Linked DNA regions of Homo sapiens: all the other regions are linked to region 1. The links are contacts of gene promoters, found by promoter capture Hi-C in human tissues and cell types (Jung and others, 2019). All regions are on one chromosome and are shown on one strand. Each heading gives the region's core, a stretch centred on a gene start or on the middle of the fragment in contact. The rest is flanking DNA. Distances are from core to core; before and after follow the strand shown. Region 1 holds the start of GLDC (glycine decarboxylase). Region 2 has its middle 110 kb from the start of UHRF2. Region 3 overlaps GLDC (glycine decarboxylase).

Evidence for each region. The method cuts DNA at HindIII sites, captures the fragments that hold promoters and counts their contacts. A contact is called where the count stands out against the background at its distance.
Region 2: a contact is called between a fragment that was not itself captured here and the fragment with the promoter of GLDC in region 1, in 2 of the 25 tissues and cell types used here (aorta and mesendoderm cells).
Region 3: a contact is called between a fragment that was not itself captured here and the fragment with the promoter of GLDC in region 1, in 3 of the 25 tissues and cell types used here (H1 embryonic stem cells, hippocampus and lymphoblastoid cells).

The regions. Positions count from the first base shown.
Region 1 is chr9:6,644,479-6,647,657 of GRCh38, forward strand. It overlaps GLDC (glycine decarboxylase), which reads right to left and starts at 1,251. Exons shown (of 25, transcript NM_000170.3): 1 at 767-1,251; 2 at 136-214. The coding sequence starts at 1,021. RefSeq lists enhancers at 461-1,018, 1,999-2,108, 2,159-2,258 and silencers at 699-768, 809-1,008, 1,079-1,328. The HindIII fragment of the contact is 11,104 bases long and covers 1-3,179 here.
Region 2 is chr9:6,517,078-6,520,256 of GRCh38, forward strand. No RefSeq gene overlaps it. Among named protein-coding and RNA genes, the nearest start is that of UHRF2, 110 kb to the left of the region's middle. The HindIII fragment of the contact is 4,034 bases long and covers 1-3,179 here.
Region 3 is chr9:6,570,078-6,573,256 of GRCh38, forward strand. The region is part of intron 15 of GLDC (glycine decarboxylase); the gene reads right to left. Among named protein-coding and RNA genes, the nearest start is that of GLDC, 74 kb to the right of the region's middle. The HindIII fragment of the contact is 9,762 bases long and covers 1-3,179 here.

The DNA of each region.
Region 1 (3,179 bases), core at 1-2,500:
CCGCCACTGTTTTATTTTAATCCACACATTCCCAGTCCTGAGCAATCCTTACCCCAGAGCTCGATTTTCAGGGAACCACAAAAGACAAATAGGCCAGAATAATCTAAGTCCAAGGGAGCCCTCCCGGCCACTTACAAACAGGGTCTTCCATTTTCAAGGGTCTTTTCAAACGGATGTTGGCAGGGACCGTCTTCTCGATCAATTCATCAATGCTCTAAAATTAAAACGCAAGGCAGAGGAAAGTGCCTCTGAGTTAAAAGAGTCACCTCTGTGTTTTGCGACTACAAAGCCTTGTGGGAACCTCATTGAAATCGCCTAATTAGGGTTCTTTTTAAAAGAAAAGGAAAACTCTGAGCAAGCCAGAATGATTTGGAGGAAAGAAAATCGTGAAGTGGGGTGGAGATTCCGCCACTCGGGGTTGGATTTCAGTTGCAACCGGAGCTAACCGGTAAGCCCACTCTTAATCAGGGGGTCTTCCTCCTCTTGCAAAGTTTAGGTCCATCCACAGGGCCACTTGGGCTGGGGGTGGTTTAAAAATGTACACTTTTGAGGCACGAAGACTGGGTGCAGGAGAAAGTAAGCTGTTAAGAAGTAAGAAGGCACGAGGACCAAAGGCACGAATTTGCTTCCACGCCACGGCCCGGGACCCAGGGTGCGGGGACCACGCGGAGCGCAGCAGAGCTCAGGGTAGGAGCCGGGAGGCCGCGCAGGCAGAGCCCGGGCAGGGCGGAGGGGAGGCCGCGGAGGGCCGGGTGGAGGTCCTTACCGCCAGCCCCAAGGTCTGCAGCATCTCTCTCTGGTCTTTGTCCCCAGGGCCGATGTGCCTCCGAGCGAAGTCGTCGTGTCTGGGCAGAAGGCGCTCCAGGAGGCGCGAGGCCCCAGCCGCGGCGCTGTCCCCGCCGCCACTGCTGCTGTCCCGGCTCCGCGGCGCCCAGCACGGCCCCGATCCCCCAGCCAGGCGGCGGCCGCCCCCGACCCCGCGGCCCAGGCGCAGCCCCCACGCCCTGGCACAGGACTGCATGGCCGCGGCCACCGTCCCCTGCCCCGGCCCGCAAGGGTCAGCCGCGCTCTTGGCCCCTCTCCTGGCCTCGGTCCCCCGGGTGGCGGCTGCGCCCGGCCTGGAGCCCCTTTCGCTGGACAGTCGGCCGGACAGATGGATGGACGCTCGCGGGCAATGAATGGGCGCTGCGCTCAACCAAGACACTCGCGCAAAGTTGTGGCTCCACCCAAGGCACCTGCTCCGCACACTTTAAGCGGCGCCCTGGAGGCGGGAGGTGGGTTGGGGCCAGGAAGCCCTTGGCCAATGAAAGTAGACAGAGGGGGAGGGGGCGGAACAGTTCCCGCCCCCGCCCCCTCTTCCTACCCTCTTCCCAGCCCTTCCGTGGAGTCCCGCTTCCCCTGGACCGGAGGCTGCCATCTCCAGTCCTACCCACTCCGACGCTGGCTGGTGCCGGGGGCCGGGACGCTCCGTACGCCGCCCGCCAGGGTGTGGAGCCGCACTGGGGCAAGATCAGGTGGGACAGCCCAAAGACTCCGGGCCAAGTTCCTGGGGGACTCGGCGGAGATGGAAGATGATTCTCGAAGCTCTCCATTTCCTTAATTTTGAGGTATCTTTCTCTGTCACATTTCATCTCAGGGAAATTAATATGGGCAGATGGCGGTTCTTTTATCTTTGCGGGAGCGTGATAAAGTTACTCAACCTCTCAGAGCTTCAGTTTTCTCATCTCAACAGAGCTGGATGGGATTTTAAAAAGAGATTATATGTACATGGAAAGCACTTGAACAGTAGATTTGAACACCCTCTCTATATTTCTTTTCTTTTCTTTCTTCCTTCTTTCTCCTCCTCCTCCTCCTCCTCCTTCTTCTCACTCTCTCTCTTTCTCTCTCTTCCCCCCCACCACATGTAACGCTATGGCTCACGCCTGTAATCGCAACACTTTCGGAAACCGACGCGGTAGGATAGCTTGAGCCCAGGAGTTCGAGACCAGCTTGGGCAGCATTGTGAAACCCTGTCTCTACAAAAAATACAAAAATTAGTGGGGCGTGGTTGCGTGCTTCTGAAGTCCCAGCTACTCTGGAGGCTGAGGTGGGAGGATTGCTTGAGTCAGGGAGTTTCAGGCTGCAGTGAGATGTGATCGCACCACTGCACTCCAGCGTGGGCCACAGAACGAGACTCAGGAAAAAAAAAAAAAAAAGAACTGTGTGTGTGTGTGTATATGTTTTTTTAAATATATGTACTGTATATACATATACGTGTGTGTGTAAAACTACAAAGGATATTTTGTTGTTGTTTTTGAGACGGAATCTCGCTCTGTCGCCCTGGCTGGAGTGCAGTGGCGCGATCTTGGCTCACTGCAACCTCCACCTCCCGGGTTCAAGCGATTGTCCTGCCTCAGGCTCCTGAGTAGCTGGGACTACAGGCACGTGCCACCACGGCCGGCCATTTTTTATTTTTATTTTTAGTAGAGACGGGGTTTCACCGTTTTAGGCAGGATGGTCTCGATCTCCTGACCTCGTGATCCGTCATTACAGGCGTGAGCCACTGCGCCCAGCAAAAGTACAAAGGATATTAAGATAGACATTGTTCACTGTCGTCTTACTTTGAAAGTTAGCCATCTAGAACTGGATTTTTTGTAAATGTACCATCTCCAGCTGTCTCATGACAGTTTTAGCAAGAGAATGAACTTTTAAAATTCCAGTTGTTCTAATATGGGGAAGAGAGGACAGAAGTAATCAGAACATTACTTGTACTTAGACTAGGGGAAAATAAAACCTGTTCTCTTTCTTGCTTATCTGCTAAGTTTCCTCCTCCAATCACCCTTAACAGATTCTGGGCTCCGTACCCAGGAGGCACAGACTATCCAGAGAGGCAGGAAAGTAGAGATGGAAAAGAGGGCAGGAAAATACACCACAAAGAACAGTAGGTAAAATGTCTGTATGGCAGACGGAGGCGGGTGGTGAGCTAGGACGGCTGGGCTGAATGTCTCCGAAAAGTTTTTCGGCCATTTGGAATTGAAATTACAACCTTCATAAAAGTTGGGAGATCTCCTCAGTGCCAGATGGTGGGGGTTGTGGGGAAGGATTGGAGGGAGGAGGTAATCTGCATTTATTCCTATTCCTGTCTATGTTGTTTCTATGTATCAGAGGGACTGGAAGCCAGGGAACAATAATTCCCAGAT
Region 2 (3,179 bases), core at 395-2,894, 130 kb before region 1:
GCATGTTCTGGCCCGCTTTTATGGGCTGCATTTCAATGTAAATTTAGTTTTCAGAGCCTTTGCAGTGCTTTTCTAGTCGGCCTCGCTTGGGTGTTACCTAGAAGCCAATCTGAAACCTGAACTATAGCCATTCACAGTTCATTTTGCTGTGTTGAATTATGGTCGGTGTGATGCATGGTCTACTAGAGGGTCTGCCCAGGACTTCCTGCAAAGATTTAAAGAATCAATTTCTGTGGCTCCCTTTCCTCTTCAGTCCTACTTCAATCTCTACTTGGGGTGGATGGGGTGCTGCCTTTTTGCAGCCAATCACTCAGTGCAGGGCAGGCATAGTCTACAAGGGTCCACTCCACAGTCTTGGCCAGACCCAGTGACCAGGAAGAATGGGTGTGGTTTTCTCCCATGGTGTTCATGTGGAGTAGGCAGGTTTTTTTCTCCTGCGGCGTTACCCCTTTTCCCATTCATTTGGCTTTTTTTCTTTGTCTGTATCCATTGATGTTTTCTGGTTGTAGACCATTGCACCCAAGCCAAAAGAAAGCAAAAGAAGGCAAAAAGTAAGTATAGGAAAGACCCCAGGAAGCTTACTCCCAGGATATTCCACATATCCGAGAGTGCCTAGATTTTATTTATAATTAGCAAGAGGAATAGACTGGAATATACTTGGCTCCATCTTGTGTGGAATTTGAAGTGCCCAAAGCAGCCTTTCAAAGACAGATTTTTAATCTAAGAAACCATAACACTGTACCACAAATGAACTCTATTTCAGAGAAAACTGATATTTCATTTTATTCATTTATTTATTTATTTATTTTTGAGACGGAGCCTCACTCTGTCGCCGAGGTTGGAGTGCAGTGGTGCGATCTTGGCTCATTGCAACCTTCGCCTCCGGGGTTCAAGTGATTATCCTGCCTCAGCCTCCCAAGTAGCTGGGACTACAGGTGCACACCACCATATCCAGCTGTTTTTTTGTATTTTTTAGTAGAGCCAGGGTTTCACCGTGTTGGTCAGAATGGTCTTCATCTCCTGACCTCGTGATCCACCCGCCTTGGCCTCCCAAAGTGCTGGGATTACAGGTGTGAGCCACTGCACCTGGCCTAAGAAAAATAATATTTATTAAACACCTATGTGTCTTTAGTATATGACAGACTTCCCAACAACGTGACAAAGAAGCTATTTCTTTTGTTATTATAGCTAAACACTTCCAGCAGAAGGAAAGTAACATCTATGCTATGCTCTATGCTTATTGAGGTTTTTGTTTTTAAAATATGGAAACGACAAATACTGTAGCATGCAGATTATTCAGTATTGGTCGTTGTTAAGTACTTATTTCTTAAATAAAAGAATAAGACCAGGCGCGGTGGCTCACACCTGTAATCCCAGCACTTTGGGAGGCCGAAGTGGGTGGATCACCTGAGTTCAGGAGTTCGAGACCAGCCTGACTAACATGGTGAAACCCTGTCTCTACTAACAGTACAAAAATTAGCCGGGCATCGTGGCAGGCATCCAAGAGACCAAGGCAGGAGAATCACTTGAACTCAGGAGGAGGAGGTTGCAGTGAGCCAAGGGCATGTCACTGCACTCCAGCTTGGGCGACAAGAGCAAAACTCCATCTCAAAAAAAAAAAAAAAAAAAAAAGAAAGAATAAAATAATACAAATGAAGCTGACATACTTTCAGTCACACTTCCCATTCCCCTCCGTACCCAAGACATTACTGCAAAATTCTTGATACCTTTTCAGTGTTTTTTTATACTTAATGCACCTATGTACAGGTCTCAATAAACAAAATGTAGGTATTTCAAGTGTTATAATGAAAACATACAAATGATATATTGCTTGTATTCTAAACTTCTTTTTTCATTCACCTTTATCCTTTAGCATAGTCTTGTCTTTTAATGGGTAAGCTTTGTCTCTTTATGTTTAAGACAAGTAGCTCACACTAGTTTTACTTCCCTCCAAATTATCTTTTTTTAAATTTATTTTTATTTTTTATTATACTTTAAGTTCTAGGGTACATGTGCACAACATGCAGGTTTGTTACATATGTATACATGTGCCATGTTGGTGTGCTGCACCCATTAACTCATCATTTACATTAGATATATCTCCTAATGCTATCCCTCTCCCCTCCCCCCGACCCCATGACAGGCCCCGGTGTGTGACGTTCCCCTTCCTGTGTCCAAGTGTTCTCATTGTTCAATTCCCACCTATGATTGAGAACATGCGGTGTTTGGTTTTTTGTCCTTGTGATAGTTTGCTGAGAATGATGGTTTCCAGCTTCATCCATGTCCCTACAAAGGACATTAACTCATCCTTTTTTATGGCTGCATAGTATTCCATGGTGCATATGTGCCACATTTTCTTAATCCAGTCTATCATTGTTGGACATTTGGGTGAGTTCCAAGTCTTTGCTATTGTGAATAGTGCCGCAATAAACATACATGTGCATGTGTCTTTATAGCAGCATGATTTATAATCCTTTGGGTATATACCCAGTAACGGGATGGCTGGGTCAAATGGTATTTCTAGTTCTAGATCCTTGAGGAATCACCACACTGTCTTCCACAATGGTTGCACTAGTTTACAGTCCCATCAACAGTGTAAAAGCATTCCTATTTCTCCACAGCCTCTGCAGCACCTGTTGTTTCCTGACTTTTTAATGTTCACCATTCTACCCAGTATGAGATGGTATCTCATTGTGGTTTTGATTTGCATTTCCCTGATGGCCAGTGATGATGAACATTTTTTCATGTGTCTATTGGCTGCATAAATGTCTTCTTTTGAGAAGTGTCTGTTCACATCCTTTGCCCACTTTTTGATGGGGTTGTTTGTTTTTTTCTTGTAAGTTTGTTTGAGTTCTTTGTAGATTCTGGATATTAGCCGTTTGTCAGATGAGTAGATTGCAAAAATTTTCTCCCATTCTGTAAGTTGCCTGTTCACTCTGATGGTCTCTTTTGCTGTGAAGAAGCTCTTTAGTTTAATGAGATCCCATTTGTCAATTTTGGCTTTTGTTGTCATTGCGTTTGGTGTTTTAGTCATGAAGTCCTTGCCCATGCCTATGTCCTGAATGGTATTGCCTGGGTTTTCTTCTAGGGTTTTTATGGTTTTAGGTCCAACATTTAAGTCTTTAATCCATCTTGAATTAATTTTTGTATAAGGTGTAAGGAAGGGATCCAGTTTCAGC
Region 3 (3,179 bases), core at 495-2,994, 74 kb before region 1:
GCTGCATGCTTTTTATATATGCAAAAAGTAACATGAAACCCATTTTGCAAGACTGCAGAATGCACTAAAGTAATAATTTATGGTGAACACCAGCAGTCACCAAAACTCCCACTGAATCACATTGTAATTATATGGAGAAAACAGTATTTGTGTTCTCAAATAGAATGTTGTATTTTTATACAAGTCAAAAGATGTTAAAAATGTGCCATAAGAAAAGACCACGCTGTGGATTCTAAAGTTTTAAAAATTATAGTACCAAGAAATTAAGATTTATATATTTTTGAATTACTAAATATCTAGATTGACCATATCTATTTTTGTTTTAATTTTCCCTAAATATTCTGAAAATCATTTTATAGTTTTTAACACACCATCATAGTTTGTGCACGGATGGCCACCTTTAGTGTGTGATTTCAGTGAAGTTCCCATTGAAGTTATTTATAAGCAGTGGACCTATTTTACTTCTTATATTTGAACTTCTTAAGAAGTTTCTTGACCAGGCATGGTGGCTCATGCCTGTAATCCCAGCACTTTGGGAGGCTGAGACGGGCAGATCACCTGAGGTCAGGAGTTCGAGACCAACCTGGCCAACATGGCGAAACTTCGTCTCTACTAAAAATACAAAAATTAGCTGGGCGTTGTGGCAGGTGCCTGTAATCCTAGCTACTCAGGAGGGTGAGACAAGAGAATCACTTGAACCCAGCAGGTGGAGGTTCCAGTGAGCTGAGATCGCACCACTGCACTCCAGCCTGCGCAACAAGAGCAAAACTCTGTCTCAAAAAAAAAAAAAAAAAAAGTTTCTCGGGGTATGTTTTTAAAAAAAATATTTTATTACATTTAAAATGATACCTTTTCATGAAAAATATTTATTTTATGAGTGATAAATTATAAGTTTAAATATGAGGTGAATTTGTTCCCTTCAACTACCTATAATATCTATAGCATCCAGCATACAGCCCTTTGTACAAAATGTAACATTTAGAAGCTAAAATATACATCATCCTCCCCCAAAATAATGATTTTCTTATAGACACAAGCAAGATTATTCTAAAATGCATATGTAAAGGCAAAGTAACTGGAATAGCTACTTTTTTTAAAAAAAAAAGAAAGAAACTGGCACAAATCAGTTCATCTGATGGCAAGGCTTATTAACAGTAGCCCCCTCTTATCTGCAGGAAATATCTTCCGGGACACCCAGTGGGTGCCTGAAACCATGGATGGCACCCAAACCCAGGTGTACTACGATTTTTCCTATACATACATACCTATGATAAAATCTAACTTATAAATTAGGCACAGTTACAGATTAACAACAATAACTAAGAATAAATAGAACAATTACACCACCATACCAGTATCACTACTCTTGTGCTTTGGGTACACTACTAAATAAAATAAGGGTTCCTTGCAATGAGACATTGCAGTGAGATCGTGCCACTGTACGATTTCACTGTTCCTTGAAAGCGCTGTGATAACATAGCAGTTGATCTGGTAACCAAGGCAGCTACTAAGTGACTGATGGGTGGGTAGCATATACACAGTGGATATGCTGGACAAAGGGCTGATTTACATCCCAGGTGGGATGGAACAAGATGCTGCAGGGTTTCATCACACTATTTAGAATGGTGTACAATTTAAAACTTAGGATGAATTGCTTATTTCTCAAATTTTCCATTTAATATTTTTGAGCCAGTTGACCATGGGTAACTGAAACTGCAAATAAGTGGGGACTATCATATATAGCTACAATAATCAAGCCTATGTACACAGAGATCACACATAGATCAATGGAATAGAATATAGAATCCAGAAATAGATCCAAACAAATATACCCAACTATTTTTGACAAAGTTGCAAAAGTAATTCAATGGAGGAAAGATCGCCTTTTCAATAAATGGAACTGAAACACTTAGACATCCATAGGCACAATCTAAGTCTCACAGCTTATATAAAAATCACCTGTAAATGGATCATGGACTTAAATGTAAAACATAAAACTATGAAATTTCTGGGAAAAACAAAAAACAGAATAAAAATTGTTGGGATCTAGGGTAGATTTGAAACCCAAAGCACAATTCATAAAAGAAAAAAATTGATAAATTGAACTCCATCATAATTAAAAACTTTTTGCTCCCATTAGGGTTACAAGGACAAGCTACAGAACGGGAGAAAGTATCTGCAAACTACCATAGCCAACGAGCAGTAAGTACAAATGCAATTCAGAAAATGATGCTGGGAAAATGACATGTGGACATGCTGTCAATGTGCTTAAAAGTACGAAGGAGGGTTACATTAGGATGTTGAAAATCAACTGGGTTTTCATTGGTGCTGAGTTTAGAGGTGTGTGTGGGAATGCAGAGCCTTTCAGTGGCTTTATTATCTGGGGGAATTCCCTCTTTTGTGTGAGTCTATGGGAGAGACACGGTCCTACACTCCCCTATGAAAGCAAAAAGGATTAGACATTCCCAGTCACTAAACACTAATAAGACATGGAGGTGTGAAACATCCTGTGCAATACTCCAGCCAGGACATTATGAATCTGGATGGACAGACCAAAGGAATGGGACAGTTCCATATTTCCCACAGTGAAGATGGTGACTCTTCGCATGGTGAGACTCCATTTTCTTCTCTGCTGCCAGCCTTTCTTGGGTCTTACTCACTGCTGAAGTCTAATTCTCCAGCTTTTCCATCAACTCTGTGAACTGCCCAATAACTTCCCTGTAAATTATTTTTCTGCTGAAGTTAATGCAAGCCATTTTCTGTTGTTTGCAAACAGGAGCCCTTAGGTGGCACATACTGTTAAATGTTTCCTACAACAAGATCATGTTAAAGTCACTCATTCCCAGGCAGATCTCACAAACAGGTATTTCCTGCAGCCACCCGGGAGTTTCTCTCACCTCTAATATCAAAGTTGTTTTTTATTTGCTGCCCTTTTCAAAGCTGTCTGGCTCCAAGCAAATTATTCCTCTGGATCCCATCTGTCACGTGGACATAATGCTATCTATTTCACAGGTGAACTTAAAATTTTTATGATAGAATACATTTATGTGGGCCAGGCATGGTGGCTCACGCCTGTAATCCCAGCTACTAGGGAGGCTGAGACACAAGAATCGCTGTAATCCCAGCACTTTGGGAGGCTGAGGCAGGTGGAGGCAGGTGGATCACCTGAGGTCAGGAGT